2 separate regions of the Homo sapiens genome follow, and region 1 is linked to region 2. Evidence: promoter capture Hi-C in 16 types of primary human blood cells and fetal thymus (Javierre and others, 2016). All regions are on one chromosome and are shown on one strand. Each heading gives the region's core, a stretch centred on a gene start or on the middle of the fragment in contact. The rest is flanking DNA. Distances are from core to core; before and after follow the strand shown. Region 1 has its middle 72 kb from the start of CSNK2A2IP. Region 2 holds the start of EPHA3 (EPH receptor A3).

Region 1 (6,098 bases), core at 3,022-5,521, 840 kb after region 2:
ACAAGTATGCACACAAACTTGTACACACATTCTCACACTCACACACTTACACACTCATTCTCACACTGAACACATAGTCATATATGCACATATAAACACATGCACACACAACTTGTACACACATCCTCACAATCACACATTTACATACACATTCTCTCATATATACACTCACATACACACTTATAGACACACACAAACCTGTACATACATACACTCACATATACTCATATCCACATAGATGCGCACAGACTCATACACACATTCTCACACTCACAGATGCATTTATCACATGTTCACCTGCAGACACACACACACACACACACACACACACACAGTCTTAGGTCTTAGGTCTTTAAAGAAAACTCGTTTTGGTTGTCAGGGAAGAAGGCTTAGATTCTTAGTTTTCCAGAATAGAAGAGGATCTGTTTTCCTGAGATTAGAAATGAGATCTATAATTTATACTCCTCTTATATTTTGCTGGACTTTCAATTGTTTATTTGGTATTTAAATAAGCCAATAGTTCCTGTTTGGTACCCTACCTCTTTAATGTCCTTTAATAGTTTGCAATTTTTCCCCAGTGCTTCTACTACCAGCTTTTCAGCAGCAACCAAAATCAATTCTTCCCCGCTCTGGGGCCAACAAGCTCCCCTCTGCCATCCCACTCCTCACTGTGAGAGCAATTCAATGCCCACAGCCATTTGCAGGTGCAAGAGATGCAGCTCCGAGCACCTCTGAAGTAGGACTTCACAACCTTTCTGTAACGGAAAATGGGTGGACTGAGATCTCAGCAGGCAGCTGCCTCTGGTTTCCTTTCCTGGCTGCAATCTGGTGGATGGGTGCTAGCCAGACTTAGGGGTTACTGCAAAACGGGCTGAAAGGAGTGTTTGAGAAGCCAGGAGTGCCAGCCACACACATGGAATGCTTTACCTAGAGTGAACACACATCGTGTTCTTGCTGTACTGCATCTTTCTTTGCAATCCAACTTTTCTCTATATAAAAGGAGTGGGGAGAGGAGGCAGTATCTTTTTATTGTTGTTGTTGTTCCTTGGACAGTGGACTATTTTTGTTTTTATTTTTAAACATCAATCAGACATTTACCAAGATAGCATGTGGAATGGACTTGAAGCTTGTACAGCCTTCGGTCTATTTCCACAGACATGACCTCTGCATTATAGATAATGCCAAGCTACTTCTCCAGCCCATGAGAATGTTTCAGATATCTTCCACGTTTATGACTACTTTAGACAATCTAAATTTTACCCCTAGGCACTTGTGAAAAGGCACAGCTGTTACCCAGTAAGGTTAACAGAAGAGCCTATCTGTTCTTAGAGAGAGCAGGCCCCTGGCAGCTTGTCACAGTGTTTACCTGTAAGGCAGCTGTGTGTTGTGAAAAGAGGCCCTCACTCGGGCACGAGCAAAGCTATGTTCTGCCCTGATGCAGAACTTGCTTACTGATGATAAGCCTCAGTTTCCTCAGATGCATTTTCCTACCAACAAGAAAGAGAATTGCACTTTACTGACCTCTAAGATTTGGATCCATCTTAAAATTCAGGGATTCTGCATTCTGAACATACTATATCCCCTGAATCCTCAGCCAACAAGAGCAGGTTTTGGTTTTTTAAAAAGAATAAATATTGTATTTTAAGTGTCCATACAACGTATCCACATACGTAATTTCAAAAAATTGTAAATAATTTCAGCTGGATAAATTTAGAATGTTTTTATTAAAACCAGTTCAACAATACTCTCTGGCACTCTTCCCAGAACACTTCCATTTGATTGGGAATTGCTTAAATTTTAATCCGTTTTAAGTTCCTCTCTTTCTCAATTGTGCTCTTCTTAAAATGTCGCATTTGAAATATTCACTGCAATATCACTGACTCTTTTATTAAATCATGTATCTCAGCAGTGATACTGCTAGCCGTTGGATGTTTTGGGGGCCACATGTAGTGTGTGGTGTGGCGGGGAAAATGCATGGATGATTATGGTTGTATTTCTGTGGATTTCCCTTTTCTCTCAAGAGCACCTGCCGGAGGCCTACATCTCCCCCATATCAGCATTAATACTATTTACTACTCTGGTCTTACTACTCTTATCTTTCCCTTTCTCCTTTAAAACATTTAAGATAATACAAAACTATCTTCCTAAACATGTGTGCCAACATGGGCAAACTCAGAAAAATAAACAAAAAACAAATTGTACATATTCCCTAAGTCAAACAAGCTTCTTTTCTGTAAGTTCATCATCACACTGCTTTTCCTTTCCTGACTAGGGCTGCACTGCTTTCCCATTTTTTTTTTTTTTTCTTTTTTTTTGAGACGGAGTCTCGCTCTCTCGCCCAGACTGGAGTGCAGTGGCGCGACCTCGGCTCACTGCAAGCTCCGCCTCCCGGGTTCACGCCATTCTCCCGCCTCAACCTCCGGAGCAGCTGGGACTACGGGCGCCAGCCACCACGCCCGGCTAATTTTTTGTATTTTTTAGTAGAGACGGGGTTTAACCGTGTTAGCCAGGATGGTCTCTATCTCCTGACCTTCTGATCTGCCCGCCTCGGCCTCCCAAAGTGCTGGGATTACAGGCGTGAGCCACCGCGCCCGACAACTATTCCCAATTTTTTATGCGGGCTGGATCCCAAACTTCACTGGCCTTGCAAAGAGAAAATGGAAAAGGCGATAGCTAAGAGTAGGAGAGGGGCTTCTGGCAGGACCCTCAAGGAGGACCAAGCCTTGTCTCCCACCCAGAGCCCTCCTGAGCCTGACATCAAGTTTTCACCACTCAATACAATGACCAGCTACACATTTTCTTAACAACTTTCCCTCCACCCACTCCTTTATTGACTCAAATACTGCTAGAGACCCTGAGATTTACCCTTTTCTAATAAGACCTACCACACCTTAAGCAACAACTATGTACAAAGCATACAAGTTACCCACTTCATATAAACTCTATCACTTAATTCTTACACAGTCTTATAAGCTAGGTTAGGCATTATCTTGTTTGTTTTAAAACTAGGGGAACTGAGGCACCGGGAGGTTAAATAACTTGCTTAATATCCATGGGCGATAAGAAGTTCAGCCTAGATGTGCACCCACGTCTACTTCATTTTACTGTTTAAAACATATGAACATTTAAAACTAATAACAACCAGAAGGTAGTATTGGATGAGCACAAAAGTAAAGCCTATAGTAGGGTTTGATTACAACTACAGCATCTGTTCTTTTGTACAGGAAAGACTAAGCAATGACTTCCATGAAGCTTTCAGCCATAACCACCAGCCCAAACTTTATTGGCCTAAATATAGCTTTTTTCACACAAAAAGAAGTGGAGAGAAGTGCTGCCCAATAGAAATATAATGTGAGAAACAAGCACAGGCCATATATAGAAAACATTCTAGCAGACACATTTAAAAAAAGTAAAGGAAACAGATAAAATTAGTTTTAATAATACCTTTTATTTAACCTAATATATCCAAATATGATCATTTCAACATGCAATCGATATTAAAATTATTAAGGTAATTTTCTTCCTTTTTTTCATACTAAGGCTTTAAAATTCAGTGCACATTTTACACCTGCAGCCCATCCCCATTCAGACTAGCTGGACTTGAAGGGCTCATTAGCCAGCTGGAGCTAGTGACTACCATATTGGGGCACACAGGTACAGGGAATTGGCTGCTGGGGTTGGATTCCTAGTACTCTGGATCTTTTCCTCATATTTACTACCACAGGTTCACAAAATAGCTTCCAAAGTACCAAACATTATATCAGTATCAACAAAAAGAACAAGGAAGGTGTGCCACCAGTAAAATCTTTCCCAGAATACCTGTACTTGCATCTGTGAACTGTGTCCCATAGTGACTCTTGATCATAGGGGAAGCTAGGAAAGTGAGAATTAAGATTTTTTCTGATTCCTTTTTTTTTTTTTTTTAAGGGAGTTTCACTTTTGTTGCCCAAGCTGGAGTACAGTGGTGCAATCTCGGCTCGTTGCAACCCCTGCCTCCTGGGTTCAAGCGATTCTCCTGCCCCAGCCTCCCAAGTAGCTGGGATTTCAGGTGTCTTCCACCACGCCCAGCTAATTTTTTGTATTTTTAGTAGAGACAGGGTCTCACTACGTTGGCCAGGCTGGCCTCGAACTCCTGACCTCAGGTGATCCACCCATCTCAGCCTCCCAAAGTGCTGGGATTACAGGCGTGAACCACCATGCCTGGCCTGATTTTTCTGATTTCTAATGGATGCATAAGAAAGGGGTTGGAGATAGAAATGTATTTGCCAACCAAGATTGCCACGGACATTGGTTTTCAAACATATATATATATTTAAAACTAACAAAAATTTCCAGAATCATGAAAATGTGCTCTCCTTCATTTTACAATATTTACATAGCATTAAGTAAATAATAAATATATATTTCTTTCAGAATATACCTGTCTATCTCACTTAAGCCATTTTACCGCTAACATATTTGAAAGAAGAGATAGCAACGAAGCATGAGGAATGGAGCATGTGGGGGGTAAAATGGTTCTCAGGAGACGAGGATACCAATCTAACCTCCCCACAGATCTTTCCACGGTGAGCCCTCTTTGTGCGTATACAAGTGAACATATTGGACACCAAATATAACACTATTTACACAAATTCTTATTGAGCAAATCAGTGTTCATTTTAATACATCAAAAAGTAAATATATGCTTCTCTAACAGATTATAATTTTTCCTAGTCAATGCTTTCTAAAACTAAATTATAGCAACAAATAAATCTAAACTAACGCAATCTTATTATCAACAAAATTTCATGGTTGCCTTAATGGAAAGAAAAATGAACTTTGATTTCAGAAATAATAAGTCATATATATCTTTTACATCATAGTTGTGGGAATTTGGTTAGCAAAAAAATGGAAATAAATTATCCAATAATTTATACTGTAGGTAGTATGAATCTCTTCATAAGATTGTACGGGTACTAAATATTATGGTAAAATTGAGCATTTTATTCTAAAGTATTTCTATCTGTTTTCTCTTCTCTCAACAATCCTAAAAACATTTTCAGTTATCTTAAACCATGATATGACATGACACAGATAGTAGAAAACTAATCTATCAGGAAATTATTCAATATAATGTAAATTAAAACTAGCATTTATATTTATTGTTTTAAATACGTACACATACATGTATATGCAGGCATTCATGTAACTGATTCTGTAATTATTCATTCAGCCCGCTAGGTCATCTAATGGGATGGTATGGAGCTGAGTTGTCATGAACTAGAATATTGAGCATACTGAATAAGCTTACAATTATAAGCATAAAATTTTGCAGATAAAAATATAAATGAATTTAAACCATCGGAGAAATTAGGTCAATAACACAGTGTTTAACTGTAATCTCCTGAGATTTGCATTTTGAAATCCAGGGATTGTGCATGTGAAAGAATAATCCCATTATAACTTTACGACACTGTAGCAATTGAGATGAACGCTGTACCACATTACAGGAAGGACACACAGTGACCTCACTACAACTAAGCCCCAGTGTTGAGAGATTACAATTGCTGGTTAAAACATTAAAAACCAAATAAAAGAAGAGTCTGTGCAACCTAGTATTACCGCTAATACCATTAATATCACTTGAAATCCTCTTTTCTTTTCAAATGCTTGATGAGGTGTCAAATGGTTGCATACCCACTATATGCAAATGGGTGCCTGACTTCTATATTCTGTGACACAGGGTAATAATAGTGCATACTATAAATCAGTTGGTGACGTAAACTCAGCCTGTGAATTGCCAATGGATCATACTTTCCCATCATTATGGTGTTGTGTAAATGTGCACTCAGAGCTGTTAACACTACTCCAGGCTTTGACTCACACCACCGTGCCGGGTGCTGATGACCAGCTGCATGAACATTGCCATTGCCATGCATTCCTTGGAGACTTAAAACGACCCTTGTGTCACTTGAAAATGATATAAGATTGCTGTGTTCTATTTGTGAATACTGTAATATTAATGTTTATTTCAAAATTTAAGAGGTAAAATGAGAATAATATTTTATTCTAATTACTAAAAAAGAATGAGGAAATGAATGTTAAATTTAAATTACTAT
Region 2 (5,699 bases), core at 1,375-3,874:
ATGTTTCAGTAAATTTCTCATAAATTTTTTACAGTGTTGAAATATTTCAATCATAATATTTTAAATACAGTCTAGTATTTCATATTTCAAAATTAAAAAATTATATCAGAAAACTACATTAATACCATTTTTAAATCACCACTCCTCTCATATATACATTTTCAAAAGAATTGCTTTCTATTTAAATTACATTGTTAGAAAAATTGCACGGAAATCTTGGCACATACTTGGCATTTTCACTTTTCATGTTATTCAACTCAACTGAGAGCCCAGCTATGGATAATATTTAAAATCTCACTCAAGTATTACCTAAGTTAAATCATCTTAAATTTGTTTTAAAGCTTCCCTTCACAATCACAGGAAGGAAAAGAGACACTACCCATAGGACACAATCTGGAAGGAATAATCCCATGAATGATGGATAAACTTTCATCCAAGCAAATTAAATGCAATTATGTCAGCTTTCTGAATATATTTACCTTTCTATATCCATATGGTTAATGTGTACCTGTCTGTATAATTATATACATTATATCCCCAAACATACATGAGGTGAGGCTTAAAAGCAATTTGTATTTGATTAACTCTGTTTCATTAAATTAATACTGATTAATTTTACATAGGTGTGAAATAGTTTGGTGTCTTTTTTTTTCTCTTGCAGTTTACTTAAAGGTTGTTTTCCACAAAAATACTGACTAACAGCTACATTCTTGTGCATAATTAATTCAGTAATATCCATATCTACATAGTTCATAACCATTCTATCTGGAAAATATAATTTATCATGACAATGTGGGAATTTTAATACTATTTTTCTAGTTATTGTCAATATTTTAATATCTGCAAAGAACAAAAATTTTTAAAACATTAAGTTTAATTTATTGATATGTTACCTATTATACATGTTACCCGTTATACAAATGAATACTCTTACCTTTCATTCAGGAAGAATGATTGACTCTTACTTTCAAATAAACATTTTAATTTGGTTTGTAAAATAAAAAGTCATTTGTGGGTAAGATAATTTTCTTGATCCTTATATTTTAGAATTTTCATTTTCTTATTTAGAAAAAAGATTCAGAACATTTAATGAAAACTGCCAAATTGATAAAGGCAGTCAGTAAGGAAGGAGATAAATTACTGCTCTATTAGCAGTGAAAGTAGGTCACCGAGTATCAGGCAGTTATTACATTTAATAAAAAACTTTCTAAGTATTTTGTTTTTACTCGTGTTTTTAAAATTAAGGTACATATACAACAGTATTGGCTTGACAATATATTTTCTAAGGAGTGATGTATATAACATGATGTTTGCACATCAGTTGCTCGGTATTGTTAACTTGCAAAATAAATTGCTAAATGTTACTGTTATAAGTTCAAAATCACTAAGAGGAAATTAATGTTGTAAGTGTGGCTTTACACTAATCAATTATTTAGAGAAGTTTGTTTTACGAGTTAGTGACTGTATTCACAAGAATAGATCACAAAAGGAATACAGGAGAAAGAAAATGTATGTATTAAGTACACAATCTTATAGAACACATTGGTGTCCTTAACATTAGGTTTGCACTTTAACCCACTGAAAAGGAATTAATGCTCATTACAAGGATAATAAATAACACAACATCAAGGAAATGCCATTTGCTGCATATGAACATTCTCTCTTAATCTACTATTCAGTTATTTACTATATCTTCCCAGGAGCTATCCACTATTCATTAAATACATTCTCCTATTTGTATATAAGCCTTTAAACAAAGAGAATCCAACCTAAGCTTATTGTAATTCTTGCAAATATTACTTACGTTAATGTGGCATATGCTGCTCTTTAGAACCTGTACCATAGAGCAAACCATTGCCTGGCGGGATACACACAACTTCAACACAGCCCTTGCACCATAAACACGCACCTCCGCTTCGACAAACTCTGATTTCCCTTTAGTCCATTCATAAATGCCATGATCCCAAGTAGGAACAACCTGTCATTACCTTTAAACATACTAAAGAGTCTAGAGAGGAAGGCTGAATTTTCTTTCAAACTTCTCGGAGTACCACATGGTCATAATTAGAAAATAAAATACTGCCTTGGCTATTTGGCAATTAACATAACTGGGTTGCAACGCTGGAGGATTTTCTTTCTTTCTTTCTGCTCAAATTGGCAAACAAGGTAATTGCTCGAAATGGTGTCAGATTAAAAACACATTTTCAAAGTTTAGACCATCTAAAATTATCTCCTGAAGTGTTTTAGAAGACAGTTGGAAAAAAAAAAGGCACATCTTTCCTTCACTCTCAGAGCAAACTGCTCTATTCGGAGGCACCTTCCCGACGTGCAAGGCTTCGGTGAGAACGTGCTTTGAAGAGCGTGAGCCCCGCGGGGCAGAGCTCCGTGCGTCGCGGTACCTGGCTTACCTTCATTGGAAGGCTGCGGAATCAGTTCCCCGAAGCTGTCGAGAACAGAGCAGCTGAGAAGGAGGAGGATGGAGAGCTGACAATCCATGTTGCTGGTGCAGAGGGCAGTGAGAGGAGCATATCTCCATGAAGCATGCCACTGATGTGAGGGGGAGCGCTCTGATTGCTGGAGAAGTTACCATGCTCCGCTCGCAGGCTGATGTCAAGTTTGACACTGGAGATAAGGAGGAGTCTGGCTGCCTTTCCGCGAACCCCGCTCGGGGACTTCCCTGGGTCCTAGTGCCGTCTTCAGCGTGCGCTGAAGCAGAGCGGGATGGCACGCAGCTGGCTCTGCAGCCCAGAGCTGCTCGGGAAGGAGACCGGGTGGGAGTGGGGGCGTCGCCCATGGGACAGGAAACACAGAAGATGTGATGAGGCCGCGGTGCTGAGAAAAATGCTCCCTCTTTTGTGTTGCATGAAAAGTAGCTGTTTTATTGTTTGCTATCCATGCTCTGTTGCTTAATTCACCGAAGAAATCACAGCCTTGATAGGAGTATCATATGGCAATGTGAGTGCAAAAGGAACTGAAATGCGAGAGAAACGTGTGTTTTGAAAGAATAGCAGTCTTTCGTTAAAAAGTCAATCATGTTTGTATAATTGAAAAAAATGATTATAGTTATTCCTTTACTGTGTTCAATGTGATCATAACTCTCCATGAGTTCTTTGTGATTCAGAAAGACACTAATACACAGCCTGAATCAGAGGGTCTCTGCATTTCCACACCCAATGGTATCGTGGCTTTTTACTAGATCTGGCACAGTGATTTTCCGCGCACATAGAGCATACTTTGTTTTTTTTCAAACAGGGAAGTTGACCTTCATCATCTTACGGAAGGGAGCAAGTCTAACCCCAGCCGGAGGTCTACATTCTTTTCTCGTTCTGTGTTGTAAAAGTAATACAGATCAAACCTAAATTTCTTAATAATACATATCCCCCTCCCTCACCATCTCACATTAGGATCTCTGGGTTCTGCAAGAGAAACAATGCATAATTCACAGCTCCTCCATTCAACTTTCAACCACTGATAGTCTAATAATATTGGGGTATTCTTATTCTTTAACATTCCAAATCCAAAAGCTAAATAATAATGTCCTCGTACTTTCTCACTTATTTTACACCATGACTATCAATGGTCTCTGTTATTTCCAATCCCATTGCTGAACAACCTATTGCAATCTAGTTCAGCCAAACAATTTTGTAATTTATATTTTAATAACCAGCATCACTTATCTTTAAAATATCTCCCAGAAAATGGTTACTCAGATATCCTTCCGCCCATCTATCTCTTCTTATACTAAAAAGAAAACAAGATTATTATATTCCTCTCACAACTTCAGAAAATAAAGGTATGTTGATAATCTTAAGATCAGTGATCAATTTTAGAGCTCTTGATAATGAAACTTAAATGAAAGTTTGAAAAGCCCTTGCTAATAATGTATTCAGTCCACAAACTCAATGTTTTTAGTTAGAGAACACAATTTTCACTTGAATTTAAGTTAATGGTGCCAGATAATAGTTTGATGACTGGGGTGGGGAATTGGGGTGGATAGAAGCAGCCAGGGGAAAAGAGAGATCCTTCTCACTTTTCTGTGTATGCCATGTTACTTTGTGTCTCTAACTTCTTTCCACATTGTGTCACCAGAGGCTGCGCAATCCTCAAGTGCCAAGTCTGTCAGAATTGAAAATAATAGCAGATACTGCCCAGAGAACTTAGACAGTGGTGACTCTGGTGTTTTTTCAAAGTTCCAGCACAACACTTACATTGTTCCAAAGTTAGATACACGTTTTCTGAAACTTGAAAGAAACTAAAATCTTATTTGGAATTGACAATTTGAAAACATTTTGGAGAATCTGCCAATGTGCTGACACGCAGATCCATTGGCGCCCCTCATGCTATTTCTCTTTTCACACTTGAAAACTTAAAAACTGCTTGTCACTGGGAAAAAAGGCATTCATGTTTGCAGAAAGCTACAGGAGTGGCAAAATGAGTACAAAGCAATACCTGGCCTGAAAATAGAATGTAAATGATATAGAATCTCTAAATTGTCAACTCTCTAGTGAAAAGTAAAAGGTTTCCATTATGTAGGCGCCATTCTGGACAGATGGGGAAAAGGGAGTGATGCCAATAAGCAGAGAAGAGCAACCATAGCAGGAGTGGAAAGGATGAGGTGGGGGCAGCAGATGCAGGGAAGCCCTTATTAAGAAAGTGGTAGTTGAGTTGCAGCTTGAAGGATGGGTAGGAGTTCACTAGTAAGAAAATGATTCAGAAGGAACTGCAGGCAGGCAAGTCCAGAGAGTGTCCAAGTGAGCCAAAAATGAAAGCATTTGGCACATATGGAATACAGAGTATATTAGAGTATTTGTGGTAGGTAAAGGGCCGGAATAGGAGGAGGTATGGATTGGAGACAAAATGTAGGGAAATATTCTTCAAAGGACTGGTTGAAAACTACAGAGATTTCGATGCCACATGTCAATGATTTTACAATATATTTTAAACTAAAGAGAGACATCAAAAGCATTTCAGCAAGTAGTAAATTGATCATGTCTCAGTCTGGGGACAAAAGTTTACTAATAGCATAAAACAGGATGTCTCCACCTGGGTGCAATGCTTATTAAGAAGTGATGCCTTCTTCCCACCACAGACTTACTGGACCTAAACCTCCGAGGTTGGAACCCAGGAATCTGCAATTTCACAAAAGCTTCTCAGGTAATCCTTGGGGTCCCTGGAGAACCACTGCCCAATGTGAAGGAGGGAATATTAGAGGTAGGCCAGTTAGACTTCAGGCTATTTTTCAAGTAAGACTGAAGTGATAAGGAACTGAACTAGGATCTCTCAGAAAGAAGAAAGATAAAAGGGAAAATGAGAAGACCATTTTAGGTTAAACAAACAATACTCCCCCAAGGAAAACTGGATTTAGTACATAACTCAAGTTAGGAATTAACAGTTCCCTGGGGGAGATGGCAATTGAGAGGAAACTGAAAAGGGGCATTTTAAAGAAAAGTGAAAAACAAGATTTCTGGAGGAAATGACAAATGTCTCTATTATTAGAGTATAGATTTCGAAATTGTGTCAGCGGGTATGGGAAAGAGGAGACACCGGCTAGGAAGAAGCAGGGTCATGAAGAGTTGTATTAGCTGCTCTAAAAAGCTTGGACAGGGGTGCTGAGGGGCAAGGCAGAAATAGTTCAATTTGCATTTTAGAAAGATCAGTTTGACATATTTAAGAAAGGAGGGGAAAATGAAAGTGAAAAC

The links. The method cuts DNA at HindIII sites, captures the fragments that hold promoters and counts their contacts. A CHiCAGO score of 5 or more calls a contact.
Region 1: a contact is called between a fragment that was not itself captured here and the fragment with the promoter of EPHA3 in region 2, in 1 of 17 cell types (naive B cells). The highest score is 6.0, in naive B cells.

What each region holds. Positions count from the first base shown.
Region 1 is chr3:88,263,297-88,269,394 of GRCh38, reverse strand. No RefSeq gene overlaps it. Among named protein-coding and RNA genes, the nearest start is that of CSNK2A2IP, 72 kb to the left of the region's middle. The HindIII fragment of the contact is 2,033 bases long and covers 3,255-5,287 here.
Region 2 is chr3:89,104,546-89,110,244 of GRCh38, reverse strand. It overlaps EPHA3 (EPH receptor A3), which reads right to left and starts at 2,624. Exons shown (of 17, transcript NM_005233.6): 1 at 2,409-2,624. The coding sequence starts at 2,496. RefSeq lists an enhancer at 2,643-2,782. The HindIII fragment of the contact is 3,372 bases long and covers 1,777-5,148 here.